Linked DNA regions of Homo sapiens: region 1 is linked to region 2. Evidence: promoter capture Hi-C in human tissues and cell types (Jung and others, 2019). All regions are on one chromosome and are shown on one strand. Each heading gives the region's core, a stretch centred on a gene start or on the middle of the fragment in contact. The rest is flanking DNA. Distances are from core to core; before and after follow the strand shown.

Region 1 (2,980 bases), core at 378-2,877, 450 kb after region 2:
TCATTTATAAAACACCTAATATGTAATTTACTTATAATGTGAAGTATTCCATATTATCTCCCTTAATAATGTGTATAAAAGACAGAAAGTATTCAAAAAGACGTAAGTCTTGGACCAGCTTCAAGAATGGAAAAACTTTTTACCTTCCCACTCCCACAGTTACAGAAACCATCCCCTCCAATGATACAAAAAAAAAAAAACTCAAAAAGATGTTAAACCCAGGAGAATGGAATCACCAGTTTATAAAGGTGGTCCTGGGGTAGAAAGGGGAGATACCTCCATAGGCTTTAAATGGCAAGTGTAACAGTATCAGGACCTTGGTCTAACAACTCTGAACTTTCAGAAAAGAGAGACTTCCTTATTATATTTTTATTTATTTATTTATTTATTTATTTATTTATTTATTTATTTATTTTTTGAGACGGAGTCTCACTCTGTCACCCAGATTGGAGGGCAGTAATGCAATCTCGGCTCACTGAAGCCTCTGCCTATTGGGTTCAAGCAATTCTCATGCCTTAGCCTCCGGTGTAGCTGGGATCACAGACACGCACCACCATGCCTGGCTAATTTTTGTCCTTTTAATAGAGACAGAGTTTCACCATGTTGACCAGGCTGCCATTAAAAAAAAAAAAAAAAAAGCCTTAAAAACTACACAGGTTTTATTTATTCTTTTATTTTTCATATAAGACTTTTTGAAATTACTCCGTGGGCATATGAATCAAAGTAATGCGTTACAGAGTGGGGAGGCTTTACAGTACTATGGAAATAGCGTTAGATGCAATTTTTCACTTTCTAGATTTAGAACTCCACTCAATAAATATTCACTGCATGAAGTACTATGACAGAGCTCAGAGACAGACACAAGCAACGTATGGTCCCTGTCCTTTAAAAGCTCACAGTCTAGTGAGGGAAAAGAGAGAAGTAACTCTCCTTGCTCTTCCATTTCCCAGCATTCTTTTTCTTTTTTCTTTCAAGAACTCCAGCTTTAAAATTTGTAGTGCAACAACTAATCACAGTCCCTCTTTTAAGTTTCAGGTCCCCTCAACTGAACTTAATCTGCTCTTCCCTGAACTGAATCTGAATGGAATGAGATTTGTTAAAAGCAAATTATTTGAAGCCCTAATGCTTAAGAACTAGAGGTCTTCTTGGGTTGGAAGCATATTTAATTCCTTTAACTTAATGACTGACTCTAACACTTCCATTAAATGTGGGTGTCATTTCTGTGCAACATCATTTAACAGGCGCTAAGTTTAATACACTGGTATAATAGTACACTGGTATAATAGTACACTGGTATAGTTTGTCTTTCTGGCCTGCAAGGAATTCAATGACAGAAAAGTGACACCAAACTGAAATTTTATTTTGATATTAAACAGAATGAGTACACTTCATCAGAGAACTCTAACTAATGCTCATAAACAAACTAGCAATAATAGCCAGAAAGAAAATGTGGCATTACTGTGTTAAGGTTGAAAAGGTGTAATTTAGCAATCTAAAAACTTCAGCAACTAGGAAGATTATAATTTAAAGACAGTTAATTTAACAGGCAATTCACTCTAGGTCAAACAATTCATAAGTATGGTCACGTAGAACCACAATTCATTCACAAATTCAACAAACACTAAGCAACTATCACATGTACCAAAAGAGATGCCAAAGAAGGTAAGAGACACAGTCCTTGCCTTCAACAAGCTTAAAACCAAGAAGAAATAAACCATGTACATAAACACTAACATAAGACAGTTAAAGATAAAAACACAATGCTGATGAAAAATGAGAATTCATGGTGTGGGAACTTGAGGAATGTGGCATCTGACCTGGATATTATACAAGGGGTAGGATTTCAAATGGATAGGAGGGTAAGGAGGAGGGGAACTCCATACAGAAAAAGGAACATGAATATATACAAGGAACTAGAAGAGCCATGAAGAAATGACAGTAATAGTTAATATTTACTGCAATTTTACTACATGCCAGACACTATGCTAAGCACTTTATAAACAGACCTATTACCATATGCTATATATGAAGCCCATCTTACAGCTGAGAACCCTGATGCTGAGTTGAAGTAAAATACCTAATACTTTACTAAGTTGTAATGCCAAGATTCAAATCCAGACATTCTAATTCTAGAGTCTCCACTTGTAAACATTGTATGATACTGCCCTCTATTCTTCCTAAAGAATGCACAAAGAAACAAAACAGCAAGAGATTAAGATTAAAAAAAAAATGCAACCATAATGTGGAAGGATAGAAGGATGCTAAACAACTTGTATTTTGTAGGCAAGAGGTAGTTATTGAAACAGTGGGCAAGAGAAATGACAGATGAGACTTACACTTTAGGAACAGAAATGAGGCAGCAGTGTACAATGAATGAACTTGAAGAAAAGAGCCTGGAGGCAAGAAGACCAATATAAAAGTGACAGTAATCCTCTAGATGCCTTAGTTTGAGCTACTATAACAAATATACCATAATGGCTTAAATAACGAACACTTATTTCTCACAGTTCTGGAGGCCAGGAAGTCCAACATGAAGGTGACAGCAGATCCAGTGTCTGGTAGGTCCACTTCCTCGTTTGCTGATGGCCATTTTCTCACTGTATCCTCACATGGTAGAGAGCAGAAAGAGAAGCCACTCTCATGTCTCTCTGTACAACAGCACTAATCCTATTCACAGGAGCTCTATCCGCATGATCTAATTGCCTCCCAAAGGGCCTAGCTCCTAATATCATTATATTGAGGGTTAGGAATTTTGGCCAGGCGCAGCGGCTCACGCCTGTAATCCCAGCACTTTGGGAGGCCAAAGTGGGTGGATCACCTGAGGTCAGGAGTTTGAGACCAACCTGGCCAACATGGTGAAACCCAGTCTTTACTAAAAATACAAAAATTATCCAGGCATGGTGGCATGTGCTTGTAATCCCAGTTACTCAGGAGGGTGAGGCAGGAGGATTGCTTGAACATAGGGGGTGGAGGATGCAGC
Region 2 (2,991 bases), core at 190-2,689:
CCCCAACCCGGCCATCCTGCAGGAGCAGCGCGTAGGCAGCCTCGAGTGATAGCCTGGTCCAACGGCCCACACCTTAGCGCCAGGCTCAAGGTACAACACTTCTGTGCCTGCCTCCTTTCTGGGTGCCCGTCCCAATACTCGAAGCTTCTACACTGAAGCCATTTTTGAGAGAATGAATAGGGAGGGGCAATTTGGGGAGCTGTTTTCTGGTCAATTTCTCATCCTTAAATTGGTGTCAGGGGCTGGGGAGGGCGGGGCGCAGAGGGAGAGGGAAGCTAGCCGAGGTCTCCACAAGCCACCCCTCACCCAGGGAGAGCCAGGGACCAGCTCAACTCGAGGCAGTGCAGGCAGACCCAGCCAGCCATGCTCGGGCTCCCAGGGGTGCAGAGCCGCTAGGGCAGACCAGGAAGAGAACAGAAACGCACCCGGGATCGCCCGGGTGCGAGCGGAGAAGAAGCTGGAGCAGAGCCGGAAGACCAGGGCTGGGAATAGGTCGTCATTTACCGGGCAGAGTGGACTTCCAGAGGTGGGGAGGCTGCGCCTGCTCTTTGGGGCAGTACATTTGGCCGTTCCAGCCGTTGGGCAGCGCCCAGGGCTGGTAGCTTTCCATGGGAAGACCCAAGGGTTCGTGGCGCGACTCGCCGGGGCCCCCGAGGCCCGGCACCACTGGCATATCCAGGTAGCCAGGCATGGGCTGATGGTGGTGGTAAGGCCCGGCTGCGTAGCCCTGGTGGTAGAAGGCGAACTCCTTAGCGCGGGAGCTGAACTCCTCGGCAGCTGGGCCGGCGGTATCCATGTACTTGTCCGCGAAGGCGGCGGCGGCGGCGGCCGAGGCGGGCTGCGCGCACGACTTGATGGCGTTGGGGTGCGGGCCCATGCGGGCGCACGGGTAGTAGCCGCTGCCGAAGTAGCCATAGGGCAGCGCCGCGGGCCCCGACGAGCTCTGCGCCGCTGCCGAGCAGGGGCTGCATTGCTTGGCGGCCTCTGCGCCCGCCGGGCCCGCCGGGCCGGGACCTCCCGAGGACGACGCGGCGGCGGCGGCGGCGGCTGCAGCGGCAGCCGCGGCAGCAGCGGCGGCAGCCGACGGGGGCGCCTCCCCGGGGGCGCTGCTGTAGGCGGACGCGGCTCCTGGCGCCAAGGGCGCCGGGTGCGCCATCAGGTTGCGGCACTGGTTGGCCGCGGCCGCCGCCGCAGCCGCGGCCGCCGCCGCCACCGAGAAGTTGCCCCCTGCCGCCGCAGCCGCCGGGTGGGGGAAGCCCCCGCCCCCGGCCCCGGCAGCCGCCGCCGCTGCAGCCGCTGCTGCAGCCGCCGCCGCCCCTTCCATGTTCTTGTTGAGCTCGTCGGCCACCAGGCCGCCGCCGTTGTCGTAGAGAAACATGACGGTGGGCTCGATCCAGCGGGGGTGGAGGAGCACGGAGGCTGTCATAGCCCGAGCCGCATGGAGAAGACCCCAGTGGCGCTGTTTTAAAAAGCCCCCAAGAAGTGAAGAGCGCGCGGCGCGGGGCCGGGGCCCGAGCGAGGGGGGCGGATCGCGCCCCGCGGGGTCGCGCCAGGCGGCCGCCCATTGGCCCGGCCCCCCCGCTCCGCCCACGGCGTATGCAAAGCGGGCGGCTCCGACTCCAGCTCTGCACGGTGCACCCGTCGTCCCCGCCGCGGCCCGCGCCGTCCCCAGCGCCAGCCGCGCGGCCGCGCACCATTCACCCGGGGGAGAGGCGGAGGAACGTGCGGGTGGGGCAGGGAAGGAAGGCGGCCCCATCTCCGCCCCCCTTCCCTTCCTTTATCCCAGTGGGGCCCAGACCCGCGCAACCAGGCGGGGAGGGGAGGTGGGCGCGCGATTGGGTTGCGATCTGGAGCAGTGGGGACAGGTCAGGTAATTCTGCCGGCGGTCAGGGATGGGAGAGTGGGGAGGACGGGACCAGCCTAGCTCAGAATGGGTGTTTCTTGGAGCCTCTGGGACTGTTTTCTTTCCAGGAACCGGCGCGTATTTCTGCAGTGAGACCACAGGACGGACATCGGCGCCTTCGGCTTCGATGGAGTTGCGATTTTGCTCTTTCCAGGGAAACAGTGGCAGGGTGTTTGCTGCTTATCGGTTCCTGCGGATATGCCTGGGTCCCAGGACATTCCACTGGAGGCTTGGACTGCATTTAGGAGCCCCTATCCCTTCCCTGTCCACACTGTTAGTGAGCAATTTCATATGTTTGCATTTAGACCCATAGACTCAGAACGACTCATCACACACACACACAGTGTACACTGACACACTCACATTCGCACACTTAGGTATACAGCCTGATCCTTGCTCTGACCTGGTAACAACGCTTCCTCCTCCAGAGACTTTGAGATAGAGCGAGCGATCCCTGTGCACCATTCATCCATGCTCCCACCTCGCCAGTATGGCTGGCTTAGTTCTGGAAGGGGCTTAAGAGGAACAAGCCCCAGCTGTGCTTCTGGCTGGGACTTAAACCCCCCTTCTGGGCCCTAAAGCCACGCTTCTTTGTGGACCGGACCTGACTCTCCAGGAATCTGGGAACCCGCTATTTCACTCTATTTTGGGACAAGAAAAAGGGGCTCTTTGGGGCCACTTCCTGCCTTCCCCTCAAGTAGGATCTCCAGCCTGCAGAGGGTGCCTAGTCCTTCTTTGCCCAAGAACCAGTCCAAGAAGCCTTTCCTCTGTGCCTGGGAAATGCAACCTTTTCTTGGGAGCATGGTAGGGTGTTGGTGCTGAAGAACCAAGCAGCGACCCGTCTTGTAGCTGCCATGTTTTGTCGAGGGGTTCTGGGGGTCCTGCTGCTTTAGAGCCACATACTTCCACTTCCTGATTCACTACTGTGAGCTGGTCAGATGCCTAGAAGAGGAACAAGCGTTCAAAGTGAAAGTGGGCACATTACCGGAATAGTGCTGGGGAGAGTGCTGGATTCTTTTCCACCCCAGGCGGACTGGTGAGAAGCCAGGCTTGGACCTGTCCTCTGCTCCTAGCTTGCACACTCAGCC

What was found. Contacts are between HindIII fragments. The study calls those that stand out against the background at their distance.
Region 1: a fragment that was not itself captured here is called in contact with the fragment with the promoter of HOXA13 in region 2 in 1 of the 25 tissues and cell types used here (mesendoderm cells).

What each region holds. Positions count from the first base shown.
Region 1 is chr7:27,650,093-27,653,072 of GRCh38, forward strand. All of the region lies in intron 1 of HIBADH (3-hydroxyisobutyrate dehydrogenase), which reads right to left. It overlaps LOC105375211 (a long non-coding RNA gene), which reads left to right. Exons shown (of 3, transcript XR_007060268.1): 2 at 2,508-2,558. Among named protein-coding and RNA genes, the nearest start is that of HIBADH, 11 kb to the right of the region's middle. The HindIII fragment of the contact is 6,446 bases long and covers 1-2,980 here.
Region 2 is chr7:27,198,652-27,201,642 of GRCh38, forward strand. It overlaps HOXA13 (homeobox A13), which reads right to left and starts at 1,440. Exons shown (of 2, transcript NM_000522.5): 1 at 505-1,440. The coding sequence starts at 1,426. It overlaps HOTTIP (HOXA distal transcript antisense RNA), which reads left to right and starts at 1,770. Exons shown (of 3, transcript NR_037843.3): 1 at 1,770-1,870; 2 at 1,972-2,991. The HindIII fragment of the contact is 6,019 bases long and covers 1-2,093 here.